Linked DNA regions of Homo sapiens: region 1 is linked to region 2. Evidence: promoter capture Hi-C in human tissues and cell types (Jung and others, 2019). All regions are on one chromosome and are shown on one strand. Each heading gives the region's core, a stretch centred on a gene start or on the middle of the fragment in contact. The rest is flanking DNA. Distances are from core to core; before and after follow the strand shown. Region 1 holds the start of FBLN5 (fibulin 5). Region 2 holds the start of CCDC88C (coiled-coil domain containing 88C).

What was found. The method cuts DNA at HindIII sites, captures the fragments that hold promoters and counts their contacts. A contact is called where the count stands out against the background at its distance.
Region 1: the fragment with the promoter of FBLN5 here is called in contact with the fragment with the promoter of CCDC88C in region 2 in 2 of the 25 tissues and cell types used here (mesendoderm cells and pancreas).

What each region holds. Positions count from the first base shown.
Region 1 is chr14:91,945,693-91,949,486 of GRCh38, forward strand. FBLN5 (fibulin 5) reads right to left here and starts at 2,002. Exons shown (of 11, transcript NM_006329.4): 1 at 1,521-2,002. The coding sequence starts at 1,537. The HindIII fragment of the contact is 12,789 bases long and covers 1-3,794 here.
Region 2 is chr14:91,416,074-91,419,536 of GRCh38, forward strand. It overlaps CCDC88C (coiled-coil domain containing 88C), which reads right to left and starts at 1,747. Exons shown (of 30, transcript NM_001080414.4): 1 at 1,558-1,747; 2 at 665-765. The coding sequence starts at 1,617. It overlaps CCDC88C-DT (CCDC88C divergent transcript), which reads left to right and starts at 2,173. Exons shown (of 3, transcript NR_184261.1): 1 at 2,173-2,267. It also overlaps the pseudogene LOC112268126. RefSeq lists enhancers at 193-322, 333-622, 2,228-2,872, 3,113-3,162 and a silencer at 1,243-2,162. The HindIII fragment of the contact is 13,115 bases long and covers 1-3,463 here.

The sequences.
Region 1 (3,794 bases), core at 752-3,251, 530 kb after region 2:
ATCTTAGGAGATGCGAGGCCATTTCCTTTATCGAGTCCCCAATCCAAAAAATAAGGACGCTGAGAGTCCACAAGTTTTCATGTAAGTGCCTGGGTGAGCCAGATTCTAGAACGCTGGAGACAGCTCTGACCTTATAAAGTGCAGAGCCAAATCCCAGGGCTTTTTGATATTTGCCATGGCCAGATTTATATCTGGAAGGAATGAAAGAACAATAACAAATTTATTTTCCAGTCTGTGTATTATGAATTTCAATGTTTTCCTGTTTCTTCACATGAAGTTTCCTTTCAGTTGGTTATAAAACCCTGTCTCGTTTATGTTGGAGAAAGAACAGGCTGACTGCAACACAGTGGACTTCAAGAGCTAGTTGAAAAGGCATGCTAACCCCATCTTTCCCCCTACTCCCCGCAGCCCCATTCCCTTTGGCTAGAGGCAGCCCTGGGACAGGTCTTGCCTCAAGCCCAGCCTCTTGGAAGAGCCACAGCTGAGTCCTGGGGGCCAAACAGGTTCCAGGCTAATAGGATTTTCCTAAAATGAAAGAATACCCAAGCACTACTGCCTCACAGCATCACGAATAGCTGCACCTTGTGATTAAAAAAAAAAAACCCTGGAAACTCCAAAAATGAACTAACTATAAGAATAGCTGGGGGGAGGCAGGTTGGTGCTCATAACCGGTCCTGGGAACTTTCTAAAGCAGGTGGGTTCGCCGGTGTTGTGCCTCAGCCTGAAACACAAGGAAAGCCGGAGAGACCAACCAAATACCAGGACTGCCTGTCACAGAAGTGCTGGTCCCCAATCCAGGATGACATTGTTACAGCTTAGTTTTCAGCACACACACACACACACACACACCCCACAGACACATACATACGCACACAAGGTTAATTTGTTCAAAGCAGTATGTTTTCAAGAGCTCGCTGAATAAAGACTGTGGGTGTCATTTAGGTAAAGTTCTCCAAGACTTAAGGATTACTTAACTGTAATTGCAATTTCCTTAAAGAATAGCAAAACATTTGCTTACATGTATCTCTGTCTGCAGTTCCCACTTCTCATTGGCTTGAAACTTCTGTGAGAATCCCACACAAACATAGAGCAAATCCAGCCCCGCGGTGTTCAGCTAGCCTGTCTGCTTGTCTATCAGCCGATGCGGCGCAGTAATTGCTAGTGAACTAGTAATTGGCCTCCCGAAATTTAAAAAATACATACAAAAATCCCTTAAAACGACAAAGTTGCTGCCCTTTCCAGAAAAGAAAGAGGAATGAAGCGCTGAGAATTTCGCAGCCCTCTCTGATGCTGGCTTTTGAAACTGTATTAGAAAATACCCACTCCCAAAAGAACGCTTCAAGATGGAAATTACAGAGGCGCAGCTTTTTATAATTAACAATATCATTGCATCACTAGCTCATGCCTTTTCCAATATCCTGACACCGCCTGAATCGCAGCCATAACCATTTTCCACCCATCGGATTTTTAGCAAGGCTTCCAGACCCTGGAGAAAGAAAAGTCCAGCGCCGAGAACCCACCTTTTTATTCCTGGCATGTCCAAGACGCGCGAGGAGGAGATGCGAAGGCGAGAAGAAAGCTCGCGGGCGGGACCCCCGGAGGAGCTCGGGCACGTCGGCCTCCTCTGGGCCCTCGGGGCTCGCGGGTGTTTTATTCCAGAGGGGCCGAGCGAGTCGTGGAGAGGACACGGGGAGAGCGCCGGGGTCCTCCCAGCCACTGCAGAGCCCTCAGCGCAAGCACCTGGTTTTGCTTAGCCCTCTTCAGTAATTCAGCATTAAACCAATTGGAGGAGGAATGTTAAAAATGAACACTTCATTTTCTAAGTATGTTAAACAATGCAAATGGGGCCTCAGTCTGGACACAGCTGGTTCAGATTACAGCGCTCACCAACTGGCTAGACTCCTCACAACAATCTTGGGGCGTCTGCCAGGGCCCAGTGCTCGGCGCTGGGAGGAGAGCCCTTCCCCGGCCGCGCTCGGCTGCGAGCGCCCGGGCAGAAGGCGAGGGGCGGGCGCGCGCAGGGGTGCGGGGGCTGGGAGGGCCCGGGCCCCTTGACCTTCCCACCCAGGGGCGGGGCGGGGCTGGCAGCGCGGCCCGGCGGGGAGGGGCGTGCACGCCCGCGCTGCGTGGCAAGGGGACCCGCGAGAACGTTGTCGCCTCCGGAAGGAAAGGGACTTGAACTCACGACCCACGCAGCTCCAGGGACTAGAAACTCACGATCGATTGGGAAACCAGAACCTACGAAGCAGAGGCTTGGGGCGAGCGACGGGAGAGTCGCGATCTTCCCGAAGAAGGGGTGGGGAGCAGCGGGGTGGGGTGGGGGGGAAGAGGATGGAATCCCGCTGGTGCGAATTCCAGACTTCAGCTTGTGCAATGCAAGTCTTAGGACGCTTTTCTCTCCCCGCCCTCATTCCCCGATTCTCCCTGGCATTTTCTCGCTTTCCTGGAAAAGTGTCCCCTGGCTCGAAAGTGATTTTAACAAGTTAAACGGTGATTTGAAGAAGGGACAGTCTGGAAAAGCAGAATGGTGGAGACAGCACATAAGACATGCTGAGTCCTTTGCATTCATTCTAGTGGAGGCTTCAACCTGTTTCTTTTTCCTGTTTGTTTGTTTGTTTGTTTGTTTGTTTTTAAGCCATTGGAGTACTTTTGTCAATGAAATCTTACAGAAGGCACTCACTCTATAAAACGCCAGTGGATGGACTGTGGCCTATCCCATCTGCTTCCACCTGCATCTTCCTACCTGCAGCCGAAAAGCCCTGATCCAGGTCCCCTGTCCTCACCACCACTCTAAGCAGTAGGAATGATCATCTCCATGTTATTAGAGGTGAAGATAAGAGAGGTTAGGTAACCTCCCCATAGTCACGCAGCTATTCATTGGTACAGCTGAGCCTCTGGAGTCTACATATTTAGCCTTCCCTAAGGCATTTTTGGGGGTAAGTAAATGGAATTCTACCCAAAGGAGAATAACAGAATGTGGATAGTTGTTGAAGCTGTGTCCATTATACTAGTCTAATCTATTTCCTTTTACGTGTTTGAAATTTCCTGTAAAACACTTTTTTAAATACCTTATGTTTATAAGGTTGTTCATCCCCCCATTGTTTGTAAAAGCAAAAGATTATAAACACCTTTAAGGTCGATCAGCAAGGCACCAATAGGGTTAAATAAAGTAAGGGGCTTCCAAAGGGACTATTGTGCAACCAATTAAAACCTAGACACTTAAGAGTCCACATCAAACGACTCCATTTATATAAAATTCAAAGTCAGATAGTGACTGGGAGGCAGCCCAGCCCCTTCTGGGTGCTGGTAATAATCTAATGATTGATCTGGATGCTGGTTATGTAGGGGTGTGTACATTTAATATTTGTGAAGTCTTATGTATGTTATATCTTATTTTGAAAAAAAGACTGAAACAGCTCCGTATGCACTGCTATTGAAGGGTTTCCAATATATTTTGTGGGTCAAAACAGTAGAATATTGGTAATTTCACATAGATTGATCTAATATAGTAATAAATGTAAAAAGTAAGCTGCAGAACTGTGTGTAAAGCATGCCATCATTTGTGGGAAAAAAAATAAATACATAAGTTCTTGCTTGTACACGTACAGAAAAGACATCACCTGAAGGATGCACAAGAAACCATGAGTATTATTGGTCTTAGCTCAGGCTGCTATAACAGAATACCATAGACTGGGTGGTTTATGCAATAACATTTATCTCTCCCAGTTCTGGAGGCTGGAAGTCTGAGATCAGGGTGTGGGCATAGCCAGGTTCTCATGAGGGTCCTCTCCTGG
Region 2 (3,463 bases), core at 497-2,996:
CAATCAGGCCGTGCAGAGCTCAGCAACAGGAAAGGATGTGGTCAGATGTACTCGCTGGCAAGAGTAACTTCTACTAAGACCCTGTTCAGGCTGCATGCTTCCAAACAAACAGCACCATGGGACCCTCCTAACACTGTGACTTTAAACTCAGTCCATACAGTAGGACTTAATGAATTGCACTTGCTTTGGGGCAACTGAAAAAGGAAGATGAAATGTAAAGGAGCTCAGAAACACAGACACCCTCATCTAAAATGAAACTTTACAGTAACCCTCGGATGCCTGGGCCCACCCCGACACTTCCTGTAACCAGACACTCTCCGTTACAGTTCCTTGCCCTCCAAAAGGGGACTTTTTCATTTCATTGCTCAAACCACAATTAAGTCCTTGAGTCTGAAGTCAATTGCACTATCTACACCACGTAAATGACAGTCATTCAATTCCAAATTTCCTTCATCAAACCAACTGCCAGACCCACTGTCCTGGAGTTCTTCAAACACCTACGAATGTCCAACAGGCACGTTAATACTGAGATACCAGCGTCTCCACCTTCAGAGAACTACCCCCCACCCCACACACACCCCGCCATGCAACCTTCCACTCCATTTCTACTCTCAAACTTTCTAACGCACCATTCTTTCCTTCCTCCGAGAAGAAGGTAACTTACATTTGCAGCATAATTTGGTTCAAAAAGATGCCGTCCACTAAATCCATGTACATAGTCAGGTTGTCCTGGCTGCCGCTTCCAAACGGGCCAAAAGTTTTCACCTGCGGGGAGGGGGACGAGGAGAGAAAGACAGGAAGTCACCCCGTGCGCACAAACGGTCCAAAGCTCTCCCAGGCAGAGACTGGACGGGTCAGTGTGAGCAGAAGGGGGTCACCCACGCCCACACCACCCTTCAGCAGGCACCAAGCCCGGCCTTCTCCTAGGGCCTGTCTCCCCTCCCCGCGCGGGGCAACAGACACGAGACAGGAGGAAAAACTTCCTCGCCACTTTTCTCCCGCGTTCCAGAGCGGAAGAAATAAAAATAAAAAGGACTTTTCAATAAATGTCTCACGTCTCAAATCCATTGTAAATCAGTGCGCCCACCCCAGTCTGTTCGCTTTCCCATTCGGCGCCCCCCATTCCCCACCCGTCACCGCCATCCACCGGCTGGTCTCAGGGATTCAGAAAAACTACATGAGATATTTGGTTGGGAAGAATGGGGTCCTTTTCGGGAGTGGCTAAACCCCAGGGACAGGAGTGACCACTGGGACCCGGTCCGCCCCGAGGCAGCCAGCCTAGAGCCCCAGCGGGAACAGGTGTACCCGCCCGGCTCCTGGCCCGGCCGAAAGCGCGGCGGGGTCCCGCGCCGGACGCACAACGGGGGCGCCGGCTCCAGAGTTACAAAGCTCCGGACTCCAGGACGCGGCCCCAACCCCGGCCGGGAGCCACTTGCTGCGTCCCTCGCGCCCCGGAGCCACCCGGGGCCCCGGCCGTGTCGGGTCTGCGGCGTCCCGTCGCCGGGCTAGAGAGAAGCCGGTGCACCAACAAAGGGGCGGGGAGCCAGGCGCACTCACCCAGGTCACCAGCGGGCTCTGCAGGAAGAGCTCCAGGAGCTCCGAGACTGTCACGTCCATGCTGAGGCTGCGCCCGCCGGCTCCGCGCCCCCCGCCCCGCGTCCCCGTTCCCCCGCGCCGCGGCACAAAACGGCTCCGCAGCGAGCAGCGGGCGCGGGGCTGCGGCGGCTCGCGCCCGGGAGACAAAGGCGGGGCGCGCGAGCCCACGTTCCGCGGCTTCGGCGGCCCCGCGCCCCGCCCGGGTCTGGGGGAAGGGGAGGGCCAGCCGCTCGGGGAGGAACAATACGGGCGGCCCCGCCCCTCGGCGGCCCTGGGCGACCGGCGCGCCGCCTCGCGGTGCCAGCCCGGGAGCCCGGGAGCCCGGGCGCGGGACCAGGCTACGCGGGGCGCTGGGAGGGGACTGGTGGCCCGAGGCGGGTGGGTCGCGGGGCCCGGCTCCCCGCCCGTGGGACCGCGCGCCCTCGCCGAGCGCAGCCTCCCCGCGTGTGGGGCCCCAGCACGTGGCGCATCCCTGCGCGCGTGCGCGTGCAGCCGGGGCCCGAGCGCCACGTGCGAGCTGGGGTGCGCGGGCACTGGTGCGTGCCGGGAGCGGGGACGCCCTGCCCTCCGAGGTTGCTCTGCCCTCCGAGGTCGCCCGCAGCTGCCGCCCGCTCTGGGCTTGGGGACCTCGGCCCTGCGCCTTTCCGCACTCCTGGCAGGTGCAGCCCCAGGTACAGTCAAGAGGCCCCGCAAACCCCCGCTCCTCACGCTTGTGCGCGGCGCGATAAACGCGCCCCGACCCTGGGGCTGGGCTGGAGGGCAAAGAAGAAACTTTATGTTGAGTTTAGGCCTTAGGGGCGCGGCCCCTCGCGCCCTACCGTGCCCCACCGTGCCATGTTCCGGGCTGCCTGCCTTCTAAAAGTTCCTGCAGGAAGCAGGTGATGTGGCCTCCCCGACCCGGGCCCGCCCCCACCACTTTGCCGGAGGCGAGCTAAATTCCAGCCGGGGTTCCTAGCAGCAGCTTAGTGGCAGGCGACAGGAAAAAGGGCAAAGGCCCCAACTGGCTGGAAGGCAAGCCCGGGGGCAGGACCTCCTTGCGGGACGGCACGAGGCAGGAGCCGGCTCCAGGCTGGTCTCGGCCTGGTAATAATTTCACACCACCAGCCGGTCATTGTTCAAAGCACTGTAGACCATTTTACTAATTTAACCCTAACGATCGCCGCATTTCGCAGCTGGGCCAACTGGTACAGGGTTGACCCGAAGGGCCCTGCGTGGCGCTTGGCAAGTATACAGCAGGCACTAAATGGCTGCCGACAGGCTCGGTGGTAATTTTGAAAGTTGGCTCTGTGCAGCGTTGGGGCTGCGGCATCTGCTGGTGGCGAGTGGTATTACAGCCCAGCGCTGGCGGACCCCGTTGGGCTGGGGAGGGTTGTGAGATTATGGCCTGAGAGCCAAGGGGGTCGGTTAGGGGTCCCTAGAGACTGTGGAAGGCGGGGTAGCATAAAACACAATGGGGGACTGCGGAGGAACTAAAATTTCGAGACTACATGGTTTTGTTGTGCACCAGAAGTTCATTAGAGAAGTTCCTTAATTGCTTCTCCGCCCGCCGCGATGGCACTCGACCCCGCGGATTAATTTAACAACTCTGATGGTTGCTCTGTGAAATTTAAAGAACAGTGGTTTAAGCAAAGACCACAAGAAAGAAGAATTGAGATCAAAGAGGAGTGTGTGCCATCGCTGTGGAGGAGTTTCAGTTGTGAATCATGAAATGTCCTGTAAACCATTTCAAGGAGTTTGATTTTTATACCAAAAACAATGGGAAGACACTACAGGTTTTTGGAGCAGCAGCTCAGACGTGTCGAAAAAGATGTTTTGATCCCTAAAATAATGAGAGAAAAGGCCAGAGAGAGGTCTTCTGACAAGTTCA